Regions from separate parts of the Homo sapiens genome. Here regions 2, 3 and 4 are each linked to region 1. The links are contacts of gene promoters, found by promoter capture Hi-C in blood cells and fetal thymus (Javierre and others, 2016). All regions are on one chromosome and are shown on one strand. The core of a region is centred on a gene start or on the middle of the fragment in contact, and the rest is flanking DNA. Distances in the headings are between cores, read along the strand shown. Region 1 holds the start of WDR64 (WD repeat domain 64). Region 2 overlaps LINC02774 (long intergenic non-protein coding RNA 2774). Region 3 overlaps CATSPERE (catsper channel auxiliary subunit epsilon). Region 4 overlaps ADSS2 (adenylosuccinate synthase 2).

Region 1 (3,091 bases), core at 183-2,682:
AATTAGCCGGGTGTGGTGGTGGGTGCCTGTAATCCCAGCTACTTGGGAGGCTGAGGCAGGAGAATCACTTGAACCTGGGAGGCAGAGGTTGCAGAGAGCCGAGATCGCACCATTTCACTCCAGCCTGGGCAATAGGAATGAAACTCCGTCTCAGAAAAAAAAAAAAAAAGAAAAGAAAAGAAAAGAATTTGGGTAACTTGGGCAAATGATTTATCTTCAGCTCCCATTTTTTCCACAAATAAAATGAACATAATGACATTGATTAACATGACTATAAATTATTAAATACTATTCAATTAATACCAGCTTGGGTTTGAACACCCAAAGTCAAGATTTTCACTTACAAATTACTATGCAGCCTGGCACACTCAGAGGCTGGCTATACTATCCCTTTAGCAATTATATGGGCTCTGCTCCTTTCATTGCAACAGCAGGGTTTGTTCTGTTAGTCTTTCACTCTGCCATGTAGCTTTATTTTTCACAGCTGTCCTCAATACGCCAAAGCTGTACACTACACCACTCCCCTTGAATCTTGTCTATGCACTGGCATCTCTGCTGCAAATCCTCCTGTAAGACCACTGTCCACCATATTCTCCTTAGCTTGCATCCTCAAGATCATTCCTGCCTAGAGATATGGAGAGTGGCCAAGACAATGGAATCATGGTGAGGCAGGAAGCTGCACTTCTTATGAAAGTCTTTATGGTCTCATGATATCTTTAGGCTAAGAAAAAGCAGTGCTATACATTACTGAGCATCCCAGGTCAACCAGTGAGCCATCAAATGGCAGCGTCTACAGAAGAACACTGGACGTCATTTAATCCAATCCCATAGTTTTACAATTGAAGCAACTTCGGTTCAGAGAAGTAAAAAAAAAAAACAAAAACAAAAACAAAACAAAACAAAAGCTTCCTCATGTCCGCTTTGTTATTTAGGGACAGAGAAAGAACAAGAACTGAGGTCTTCATCCCCTTTCAGCACCCATTCTTTCACATTAAGCTCTGATGCTTCTCTCTGATGGCTTAAAACATTTTCCAGTTCTAACCAACAGACCCAATTGGACTATCGTGTAATCACTGATCTTACCTTCTTTATGGATAAATAAGCCTGCTCTTTCATCTCTTTTCTGGGCTGCTGTTTGTTCAACCAATTTTTCAAACCTGTTCAAAGCCTTTTTGAAATTGCTCATCTGAAGTGCCATGTTGAGACGCTTTTCCTTCCTGATATCCATAGGGACATAGGGGATCTTTTACTTCTGTACAGAAAGAATACTGCAAGTTTACCAATTTGGAAAACTTTCCAGTTGTTACAGTGCCTCCCTGCTGTCTCAGTTTTTGCCCTAGGTCTAATTCCTTTGATCTTAAAATCCCATAGTGCGGGTAGGAGTAAGAGTTGCCACTAGGATGTTAGCAGGGAGGAAAGCTGATTTAGGTCTGATGCATTTCATACAGACAAACATTTCAGTAAAAATCCTGACCTCACAATGTCATCAGTGTCCTTCATAGGGTCCTCATTGCATCATAATATCTCTGTAACATCCTACTTCCTTCATAAGGAGGAGATTGAGATATTTTTTTCCCCACAGACTGTGTGTGTGTGTGCGCGTGCACATGTGTGTGTTGTGTATACTGCTTGAGAGGGAAAAGGAATGAGTAAATAACAAGTAAGAAAACTGGGTAATACTTTCTCCCTCGTGTATCTCTTCTCACCTCAAACCTTTTGCCTTCCTCACAATACCGCGGAAAGTAAAGTTTGGCCAGGCACGGCGGCTCATTCTTGTAATCCCAGCACTTTGGGAGGCCGAGGTGGGTGGACCACCTGAGGTCAGGAGTTCAAGACCAGCCTGGCCAACATGGTGAAACCCCCGTCTCTACTAAAAATACAAAAATTAGCTGGATGTGGTGGCGGGCACCTGTGATCTCAGCTACTCAGGAGGCTGAGGCAAGAGAATCACTTGAACCTGGGAGTCAGAGGTTACAGTGAGTTGAGATCACACCACTGCACTCCAACCTGGGTGACAGAGTGAGACTTCCTCTCAAAAAAAAAAAAAAGTAATATTCACACTTATTCTTGCCACTGTACTGGATATGGAAATTCGAACTTCTAAAGATGAAATGTATTTCAGCACCTGTCATTTCTACCACAAACATTTTTAGAGGTCATAGGGAATACAAATGCTCTTCTTCCTTTGTGCATTGTCCTTCGATTGAAATAATAAAGTGAGCCAAGGATAAGGAAGGAGTGGCTTCTGATTATGAGGACAGCTTTTCAAGGTAAGAGGTCAGATGAATTAGAAGAGGCCTTTCTGCACATCTCCTTCCCAGTCATTGCAATCTCCAATCCGACTTAGTCCAAATGCTATTGACTCCGGTTTTCCAATTTTCAACTTTTTATGGGAAGGAGAAGTTGTTTAATGTTTCTCAACAATTAGTTAACTTCCTATGGCTTAGGTGAGTTAGATAAATTTCCTACCCCTTGGTAGTCCATCTTTTAAAACATTCTTCAAGAACTTGCATTCAGAGATGAAGCAGATGGCATTTCAGAGCACCTCCAATTCCAGTACTGTCTTCTTGGTGTCCACCTCTAACTATCTGTTAGGAGAGCGCAGTAAGATTTTATTTAAAGAAAAATCCCCCAACCCCATTTGTTTCTCCTCCTTTTTCCTTTAAAGCTTTCAAACCACTGTACAGTGATGTCTGGAGAACCACTCTTCCTACAATTCTAATGCATTCACCATTAATTCATCTAGGAAATATTTACTGAATACACACTTCATGCTAGAGGCTGTTTTAGACACTAAGGATACAGCAGTGAATAAAATAGCTTCTCAAGTTTATAGACTAATGCAGAAGACAGACAAACAAATAAATAATGTATCAGTGAGCAATTGTGCTACGAAGAGAGAGGAATTTTGTGTGTATTAGGGTGGGGGTAAAAATCAAAGTAAAAGAGGTAGGGAGATCAGGGAATTCCCCATTAATAGAAAGATTTCTGGGCAGAAACCTGAAAGAAGTGAGGTAGCAAGTCATGTGGATAAATGGTAGAAGGATGTTCTAGGGACAGCAGGCGTAAAGTCCTGAGATTGGTGTGTGCT
Region 2 (3,475 bases), core at 356-2,855, 2.4 Mb before region 1:
GCAGTAACACACGTGGAGCTGTCATCTCCTGTGATAACGGTGCCTTCTTCTAGAACACCTACTGAAGGACTGACCTGAGGCTGTTTTGCAGTTAACTTTTTTTTAAAAAAATAAGTAGAAGGAGTACACTCTAAAATATAATAATAAAAGTATAGTGTAGTAAAAACATAAATCAATGACATCGTTGTTTAGTATCATTATCAAGTATTATTTATTGTACATAAATGCATGTACTGTACTTTTATACAACTGATAGCACAGGTAGGTTTGTTTATACCGACATCACTGGAAAAATGTGTAATGCATTGTGCTATGATGGTACAATGGCTGTGTCACTAAGTGATAGGAAGTTTTTAGCTCATAATCCTATGGGACCATCATATTTGCAGTTCATTGGTGACCAAAACATCATTAGGTGGCACATGACTGTATTTCTATGCATGCTGATACACAAAATGTAAAGTATCCTTATTTTTCTTTTGCCATCAGGTAAAGTTACATTTATGCCCAAAACACTGGAGAATAGTTAATTCACTGACTACAGAGGAATTCTGATGGGCTAAGACTAGGGTGAAAATGGCAAGCTCTATATGTTACATATGTTTAAGTGTAAACAAAGAAGTGTATACATGAACACATGTGTGTGTCTAAAATTGCATTTTGTATACGCTAATTTTTCCCTCACAGTAGGAAGCTTGCAGTTATTAACTGTAGCAAAGTCTTCTGGTCCCCTACCCCAATAGCTGTTCTCCCCTTCTTCTTTAGTGACAAAACTCTCAAGTACATGACTGCCCCCAAGTAAAGCTTTCCCAGCTTTCTTTGCAGCTAGATAGCTCCCTATGACAAATTCTGGACAATGAAATGCACGTGGAAGTGTTTTGTGCAGTTTACAGGAAGCTTCCTTAAAAGACCATGAATATGCCTTTTGACCCTTTCTTCTTGGTTGCTTTCTATTGTCTGGAATATGGACGTGATGGCTGGAGCTTGGGCTGACATGATGGACCACAAGGATGAGAGCCACATTATAAGGAGGCTGGAGAGGAGAGCTGGAGGAAGTTTCTTAATTTAATGACTTCCTAAAATTACCATACCAGCCCAGGACTGCATCCTTCCCAACTTCGTTTCCATAATAAATAAATCAAGGTTGGTGGAGATATACATTGGTGCAGCCATTATGGAAAACTGTATGGCAGGGTGGGGGGGTTCCTAAAAAAATTAAAATAACACTAATATATGATCCAGCACTCCTATTCCTGGGTTACATCTAAAGGAAATGAAGTCAGTATGTTGAAGAGATATCTGCACTCTCATATTCATTGCAGCACTATTCACAATAGTCCGGGTATGGAATCAATCTAAGTGTCCATCGACAGGTGAATAGATAAGGAAAACATGGTATATGTACAACGGAATACTAGTCAGCGTTTAAAAAGGAGATCCTGTCATTTGTGACATGGATGAACTGAAAGGCTGTCATGCTAAGTGAAATAAGGCAGACACAGAAAGACAGATGCTGCGTGATCTCACTTATATGTGGACTCTAAAAAGTTGAACTCATAGAAGCAGAGAATGGAATGGCAGTTACCAGGGGTGAGGAGAATGAGGAGATGCTGATCAAAGGGCAGAAAGGTTTATTTCTGAGGATAGACTAGCCCAATGTGTTCTGGTTGGCGGGGAGAAGAATGTGGGACCCTCTTCCATGCAATTATTCAGAGACCAATCTTTTTCCATCTCGGCCACCGGAGACTCCAATCATCTTCCATATATGGCCTCCCAAGTCCCCACAGAATAGAAATAGATATCACATAGGATTATACAAGGAGATTTAACATGGTCCATGCCTAGGGTGGCATTTGACGCTTCTACCAACAAGCTATTGGCCAGAACTCTGTTGTATGGCCCAAAATTAACTGCAAGAGAGTCTGAGAAATTTAGTCTAGCTGTATTCCCAGAAAGAACAAACAAGAGCATAGCCTTCTCTTACCTAGTAAATAAACAGAAAATATAGTTTCCAATATCCCTGTTTTAAATTTATTTTCTAAAGGCCCACTTAACAAGGTCCACATGCTCAAGGATACAACTCACTATGTCACAAAATCGTCTTCTTATGTCATCTTAATATTGAAGCATCTAAGACTCAGACATTTCTAATAATGGAAGATGAGCCTCCAGAAATGGTGTGGCTTTGATCTCAAGCCCTGGCCAGCTACTGTTCTTCTTATTCCTACTGTTGCCCTTCTTCCTTGTTTGTGTGCTTTCCCATGATGAGGCATAATTTTTGAACATCTATAGAGGACGTTAAGGAAAGCTTCCATAGGGCTTTATATCCCAGCACTTTGGGAGGCTGAGGCGGCTGGATCATGAGGTCAGGAGATTGAGTCCATCCTGGCTAACATGGTGAAACCCCGTCTCTACTAAAAATACAAAAAATTAGCCGGGCGTGGTGGCGGGCGCCTGTAGTTCCAGCTACTCGGGAGGCTGAGGCAGGAGAATGGCGTGAACCCGGGAGGCGGAGCTTGCAGTCAGCCGTGATTGCGCCACTGCACTCCAGCCTGGGTGACAGAGTGAGACTCCGTCTCAAAAAAAAAAAAAAAAAAAAAAAAAAAAAGAGGCAGGGCATGGTGGCTCACGCTCATAATTTCTCTATTCAGAGTTCAGCATCATTGTCAAGTATTATTTGGGAGGCTGAGGCAGGAGGATCACTTGAGGCTAAGAGTTTGAGACCAGCCTGGGCAACATAGCAAGACCCCATCTCTACAAAAAATTTTTTTAAAAAATTAATTAGCCGGGCATAGTGGTGCACACTTGAGGTCCCAGCTACTTGGGAGGCTGATACAGGAGCATCACTTGAGCCTGGGAGATACAGGCTGCAGTGAGTGCTGATTGCACCACTGCACTACAGTCTGGGAGACAGAGCAAGACCCTGTCTCAAAAAAAAATTCACTTAACTTGTAGTCTGGGAGCATATTGCTAGAGATAACAATGGATCATTGAGGCAGATAGAGCTTTTTCATTTCCTTTTATACTACTGTTGTGTATTTTATAGGCTATTGTTATAAAAAGCTACCTGATACTTGGGCAAAATAAGATCATTTAGGGTATTTTTTTTAACAGGGTGAGACACTTCAAAAACAGACAGTCAGACAGACAGATATATAGATAGAATTCTATTTTCCTCCAAAAAATCAATCACGATGGTTTTATTGAACCAACGTTTCCCACAAATTCTGGACAATTACCAAAGACAATCCATTTCAGGAAACATGATTGAGATAAAAATGATAGATGCAAAAGGAATAATGTTTAAAATTCCATTTCGGCTTAATAATGAGTTTGTGGCCTGCATCATAAGGCAAGTTATTATCCATCACATTTTATCATGAGACTCTTTCTTGCATTTTTATAAAAATTTTACAGCCTCTATTTTCAGAACTGTCCAGAAGATGTTGTTACTGTTCACTGTTGTTTCCTTTGA
Region 3 (3,542 bases), core at 968-3,467, 2.8 Mb before region 1:
AGTCCCAGCTTCTCGGGAGGCTGAGGCAGAAGAATTGCTTGAACCTGGGAGGCAGAGGTTGCAGTGAGCCAAGATTGCGCACTGCACTCCAGCCTGGGTGACAGAGCGAGATTTTGTCTCAAAGAAAAAAGAAAAAAAAAAAACAATAAAATGGTCCAATACATGGCAAAACTGTCCAGGAAAGGAAGATAAAGTGCCCAAATAAACTCTATTAGAGACATAAAATAGCTAAAAATAGATATTGAAATGGTAAGCAAAGATTATAAACAAATGAATAGCAATAAATTTGAAAACACAATTGTAAAAGAAAATATATATTACATAGATTCCTCTTGCCTGGTATGGAATATTATAAAGTTTATACAGAATGTGTTCTTTTCTGTATGGCTACTTTCACAGAGTACAGTGAGATTCATCCATATTGTTTTGTGTTGACATGTAGACACAATGCACTTATTTTCATTTGCCATATAGTATCCTACTATGTGAATACACAGAAATGCATTTATCCCTCTATACTACTGATTGACATGCTACTGGGTTGTTTCTAGTTTGGAGTTCTTAGGAATAATGCTGTCGTAACCGTTCCTACATAGGTCTTCTGGTGCTGGATGTATACCTAGGAGTCAAACTAGTGTGTCACAGGATACGTATATATTCAACACTATTGGATAATAGCAAACAGGTTTTCAAAGTGGTTATACCAACCTGCATTCCTTCTAGTGGTGTATTAGAGTTCCTACTGCTTTACATTCTTACCACCCCTTGTTATCTTCAGTCTTCTTAATTTTAGGCATTCTGATTGGTTTGTAATTACATCTCCCTGTAATTTTAATTCACACTTCACTAATTTTTCATAAGTTTGCTGGTCATTTGTACATCCTTTTTTGTGAAATATCCCCTTAGGTCTTTTCCTCCTTTCTTTTTTATACTTTAGAAAAATTTAAACAATACTGAAATGATGTGCTTCTTAAAGATTTGGTAGAATTCCCACACAAAACCATCTGGGCCTGGTTCAAATTATAAATATTTATTTATTTATAAAGGGAGCACAACACTGATAGAAAACACAACAGAAATTGTTGAGTTATTTAGTAAAAATTAACTAAAGACTCCTGATTCTAATTTACGAGTGATACCACACAGTGCTAGGAATTGACTGTTGTGTATTGTATTCTCAGCCATGATCATTCATTCCTGCATAACTCTAGGCTATCCCTAGATTGCAGGAGCTGGAAACCAGGAACCCTCAAGGGTTCTGAACGACTGAAAATCAGATGTGGACTGGAACTTGTAAAAAAGAGGAAGCCATTCTTCTTCCTCAGGCAGTGGTACCAAAAGTCCAGGCTTCAAAGATAGGTGGTTTTGGGGAAGGCCTCTGTCCCATCTTTCCATTGAGCACCATCCCTCATTAGGTACTGGGAGAGACTTGTGACATGGGCACCTATTTCCTCCAGGTCCTGATCTCTGGTGGCAACAGCAACTTTTTGACTATTGATAAACCTAAAAATTAGTGGGGGTTTCTAAGACCCTTGCTTTCCTAGCCCTCCCAACAGTTTGGTGAGCACCTAATTTCCTGTAGCAAATAAATTTCTGCTTGAAATATCTAGAGTGGTTACTGCTGTCCTCTGACCCCTGACTGCTACACGCTCCCTTAAAGACAGGGATAATATGACAAGTGTTTAACAAGTTGTACAGCACAGACACTGACAGTTCCAAGCGAATACCAGGCAGCATGCTACCCAAGTGTGTACTGGCTGGATTCTGCCTGCCTTAGAGGGCATCTGGAAATATGGAAGAGTATCTCAGGTCACACAATCCCTGAGGATTGTCACTGCTACTTAGTGTTTGGGAACCAGGGAAGCAAGCTGTTCTGCAAAGCAAAGGATAGTTCCATACAATGAAAATTTTTCCTGCTCAAAATTTCAGTGGCATCCCCACTGAGATAACTGCTGTGGAGCAAACTCATGTATGAATATTGATAAAAGAATCTTATATAAAATATTAACAATAGTCCCTGAGAGCATATTGAACTACTACATTGGTACCGTGTGGGGTTTTCCCAAAATCCAAGGATGATACAATAAAAGTGAATATGTTAATATGATTCACTATGATAACAAGTCTGAGAAAACTCAAAAACTTTTTTCTGTAGACTGTGAAAAGGCATTTCACAATTCACTATAAGTATCACTTATAGCGACTATTTTTTACCATATTCAATAAATTAGGAACCAATGAATACTTAGTTAATTTAATGAAATGTATCTCTCTCTGCCCAAAAGGGAGCATCTGTTTAATTGGGAGATGTTGGAAGAAATCTACTAAAGTTAGGAAGAAGATAATGAGATCAACTCTGGAGGGCTACATCATTCTTCATGAATTGGAAGATTCAATATCATAATGATACCAGTTACTATGATAACAATGTCAGTTCTCCCCAAGTGCAATCCCAATCAAAATCTCAGCAGATTTTTGCTTGTGAAAACTAACAGCCTTATTCTAAAATTTATATAAAAACGCAAATAGCCAAAGTAGTCTTGTGGAAGAACAAACTAGATGTTCACAGGACCAGATCCGAAGACTCATTAGAAAGCTATAGCAGTTAAGAGAGTGTAGAATTGGCACCAGGACAAATAAGAAAGTTCACAAACAACTCATCTACATACGGAACAAAGGTGACATGAGAAAGGTAATAGGGGAACAGTGAGTTGTTTAATAGATTCTGGTTCATTATGTGAAAAAAGTAATGTGAATGCCTATTGTACTATATACAAGGCAGACTCTAGATGGATTTATGACCTATATTTTAAAGGTAAAAATATAAGAAATATAAACTAAAATTATAAAAACATTTCAGTTCAGGGTAAGCAAATATTTTTATTAAATAAGAGCCCTGGACAGGCGCGGTGGCTCAGGCCTGTAATCCCAGCACTTTGGGAGGCCGAGGCTGGTGGATCACGAGGTCAGGAGTTCAAGACCAGCCTGGCCAATATGGTGAAATCCCATCTCTACTACAAGTACAAAAATTAGCCGGGCATGGTAGTGTGCACCTGTAGTCCCAGCTACTCAGGAGGCTGAGGCAGAAGAATCGCTTGAACCCGGGAGGCAGAGGTTACAGTGAGCCAAGATTGCACCACTGCACTCCAGCCTGGGTGACAGAGTGAGACTCTGTCTCCAAAAAAAAAAAAAAGGAGCCTCCAAAAGTTTAAATCATAAGGCAAAGGAGGGGAGAGATTTGGCTCATCAAAATTCAGCTTTTTTTTTTTTCAGTAAAGTATCCATGAACAAAGTTAACAGAAACTTGAGATAACTGAATCTTTGAAACCAACATTTGATTAATTTTTACAACGCAATGTAGATAGCACTGTGTTAACGAGTAAGAAAAAGGCAGAAAATTAAATGAAAAATAGGCAAAGGGTATGAACAGGTAATAGAAGGAGAAGCCTACATAATATGCGAAGAGATGCTCAAAATCACTAGTCATCAAAGAAACTGAAAATAACAACAGCAATAGCTATCACTGGATAATAATGAGATTG
Region 4 (3,168 bases), core at 356-2,855, 2.8 Mb before region 1:
ACCCAGAGTCTAAAGCTTCTTAGGAACCTAAGATTCTCTCAGGCAAGGCCCCTTTCCACTTTCATTGTGAGAAGTTATTTCATAATAGTAATGTTAGGTCTAAAATATAAGGTATCTGAGGTTTTCATCATTTGTGACATTTATGTGTGTATGAAACTAGAAGGTAACTATAATCATGCAAAGTAAAGTGGATACCTTTAAACCTTTAATGGATAACTGAGCTGGGATATCTTTGCTAGAAAGAAATTCAGATACCCTGTGTATTTTTTTCTCTTGCTGTCTAGTGTGTCTGGTTACTGCTACATAGTTAAATTTGATCAACTTGCTGGTAGTAACTTAACCTGCTCTACTTTGGAATCATAAGCTAATTGCAGTTATGTGAATGCTTTCATGAAAGAACAATCATCATTTATAACTGCTTTATTGCTGTGGATTGATAAGTGCTTTAGTTTTGGTGAATGGTAACATGTTTCATCTGGAAAGGAGGAGACACAGATCTTACAATCTTTACCCTGAAAGCAGCATAGATAATAAGCATTGACTCCAAAGATTTTTAGGCTCTTAAGAAGTTTGAAGATTAGACAAAAAAATAGCAACCCTTTTTTGGTTGCTGAAATAGTTCAGGGGCATGGGATCTGAGACACTGCTGCTCTCTCCTGTAATCCATAGTGGCCACTGACTTCCTGATGTTCATTTTGAGCTCTGTGATTACAGTAGGTTGTTCATATATTCAAAGCAAAAGGACAAAGATAAGACACAGAGGCCTAACTAGCCTGAAAAATGCCTCTGGGCTTTGTGCATGAAATTGGTAGCCCTTGACACTTGGGCCTGTATTCTGGAAAAGAGACCATTGTTTCAGGTTTACAACACTGAGGATCATTCACTGCCTTCATCTCTCTACCACAGCAGAAATGCACTTGGGGGAGCGAAGAAAGGAGTGATTTAGGGAAGGAGAAGGCCCAGTAGTGAAACCAAGTTAAGAATCAAGAGTCACTTTTGTAAACTAATATCATTTAATTCCTTTCCAAACTTTTTTTTTTTTTAACCTCCCCTGGACCTTTGGAGCTTCTTAGCTAGAAGCTTACACATATTAGCATTTCCTGATCCAAAATTTTATTCTATAATTGGATTTGACAGCCTCTGGTTCTGAGGAGTCATGGAAAGAAAATTCAAAACACTTGTCTTCCGACTTCCTTAAACTAAACATCAAATTAGGAAGAAAAGGAATGCATGGAAAAACTGAGAACAGTTACAGAATAACTAAATACTATTATATCATTCCTCTATCCTGCAGTAATGCTTTAAAGTATTGTCCTTGACAGCATAAAATGTTATTAATATCTAGCAATCATTTTAATATTCAGTTTCACTAGTACAAGATGTAAATTCAGCAAGGTGTATATTATGTTGTAGTAAGTTTTTTTTGTGAATCATTTGTGTTCTTTGTTTGCAAGCAATGGAAAGAAACTATCTCAAGCAAAATGGGGATTTGTTTAAAGGAAGAGCAGGATGGTGGCCTGAGATGAAGCCTGCTCCTGGAATTTCAGCAGCTAGAACTGGCAACCTTTTTCTTTAGGATGCTTCCCGTAGGTGACAGGCATCTCAGACTGCTATTGCTTTCCTTCTCAGTACTCAAATTCAGATTCCCAAGGGAGAGGAGCTGACTGGCTCAGGTTGGAACATGTTTCCCTGCCTGGATCAGTTTGCTGTGGCTGGGGGGATGATTCCTATGATTTGCAAAGTAGGGGAAAAGGAGGGGGACTGAGCATACAAAAGCTATAACTAACCTGGAGTTAATTTTGTATAGGAAAATAAGGTATGAGGAAGCATTTGTTCTGGATTGTTCTCATTTATAAATTGTTTTCCAAAACTCTAATGTGCTATTGACCTGTAGTGCTTTTCTGGAACAAAAAATAGAGTTAAATTGGTTTTTATTATTTTAACCTTAATTAAAATAATGAAAATTAGCTATGTATTGATGGTAAAAACTAAAAGCATACATCAGAAACTTTGCTTTTCAGCTTTGAGAACATAGAATTTTAGTCCTGCTTTTTGTTTCTATCATGATGTTCCAGTTTATTTCATAGCTCTGTGATGAGATACATTTTTTCCTGGTAATTAAGAAGCTTATTTAATATTTTCTTTGTATTTCATCTTTTTTTTTTTTTTTTTTTTTTGAGATGGAGTCTCGCTCTGTCGCCCAGGCTGGAGTGCAGTGGCGGGATCTCGGCTCACTGCAAGCTCCGCCTCCCGGGTTCACGCCATTCTCCTGCCTCAGCCTCCCAAGTAGCTGGGACTACAGGCGCCCGCCACTACGCCCGGCTAATTTTTTGTATTTTTAGTAGAGACGGGGTTTCACCGTTTTAGCCGGGATGGTCTCGATCTCCTGACCTCGTGATCCGCCCGCCTCGGCCTCCCAAAGTGCTGGGATTACAGGCGTGAGCCACCGCGCCCGGCCTGTATTTCATCTTAATGTAAGAATAACAGTCAAAGAAAATTGGTAAAATATATACTATATTAGGGGATGTTTTGTGACTGCAATTGAATTTTCTTTCATATATTGTTCACTTTAATAAAATTAACCTGCATTTATTCTTGGTATTTAATATAAGAAGAACATCATATAAGGCATTATAAGCTTATGCTTTTCCTCAAAGAAACCTGCCACGTAGCTACTTGTGGACTCATGCTGTTTTTTGTTTCTTGGGGTGTTGGTGGGGGGTAGGGTATATTTCAGAAGTAAAATGGTTTAAAAATTGGCCTCAACCTGAAAGCCTGCCATGCAGTGTTGTGGCACTGATGGAAGTGTGAATGAGAAGGCGGTGTCAGCACGTGGCTGGAGAGCCGCTCCGCCACTCTGCCACTCCGCCTCCCTGCCACGTGGCTTGTGAGGAGCCACTAAACCTTTCCGTGCCTAGGCCTCCCCATCTGTGGAATAGTCAGTACCACCTACTTCATAGGGGTGTTGTGCGGACTGAAAAAAACAATGTCAAATGTTTTTAATATTCAGATGCAAGGATGATGTCTGAAATCTGTACTGTATAAAGGCTACACAAAAATGGACAGACATTTGGTTGACTGTGCCAGATACCAAAAATGTACGTTCAGAAAAGCATTTTACCAACTCAGAAATATGACTTATTTCTAGGAAAAACAAAGTTCAAAAAA

What was found. Contacts are between HindIII fragments. The CHiCAGO score rates a contact against its expected background, and 5 or more counts as called.
Region 2: a contact is called between a fragment that was not itself captured here and the fragment with the promoter of WDR64 in region 1, in 1 of 17 cell types (fetal thymus). The highest score is 5.4, in fetal thymus.
Region 3: a fragment that was not itself captured here is called in contact with the fragment with the promoter of WDR64 in region 1 in 2 of 17 cell types (fetal thymus and non-activated CD4 T cells); the score reaches 5.9 in fetal thymus.
Region 4: a contact is called between a fragment that was not itself captured here and the fragment with the promoter of WDR64 in region 1, in 3 of 17 cell types (monocytes, activated CD4 T cells and fetal thymus). The highest score is 7.0, in monocytes.

Annotation. Positions count from the first base shown.
Region 1 is chr1:241,650,622-241,653,712 of GRCh38, reverse strand. It overlaps WDR64 (WD repeat domain 64), which reads right to left and starts at 1,432. Exons shown (of 28, transcript NM_001367482.1): 1 at 1,084-1,432. The coding sequence starts at 1,228. The HindIII fragment of the contact is 1,763 bases long and covers 908-2,670 here.
Region 2 is chr1:244,031,346-244,034,820 of GRCh38, reverse strand. All of the region lies in intron 8 of LINC02774 (long intergenic non-protein coding RNA 2774), which reads right to left. Among named protein-coding and RNA genes, the nearest start is that of ZBTB18, 18 kb to the left of the region's middle. The HindIII fragment of the contact is 1,411 bases long and covers 900-2,310 here.
Region 3 is chr1:244,464,690-244,468,231 of GRCh38, reverse strand. The region is part of intron 2 of CATSPERE (catsper channel auxiliary subunit epsilon); the gene reads right to left. Among named protein-coding and RNA genes, the nearest start is that of CATSPERE, 5.2 kb to the right of the region's middle. The HindIII fragment of the contact is 6,278 bases long and covers 1-3,542 here.
Region 4 is chr1:244,443,524-244,446,691 of GRCh38, reverse strand. All of the region lies in intron 1 of ADSS2 (adenylosuccinate synthase 2), which reads left to right. Among named protein-coding and RNA genes, the nearest start is that of ADSS2, 6.8 kb to the left of the region's middle. The HindIII fragment of the contact is 1,046 bases long and covers 1,083-2,128 here.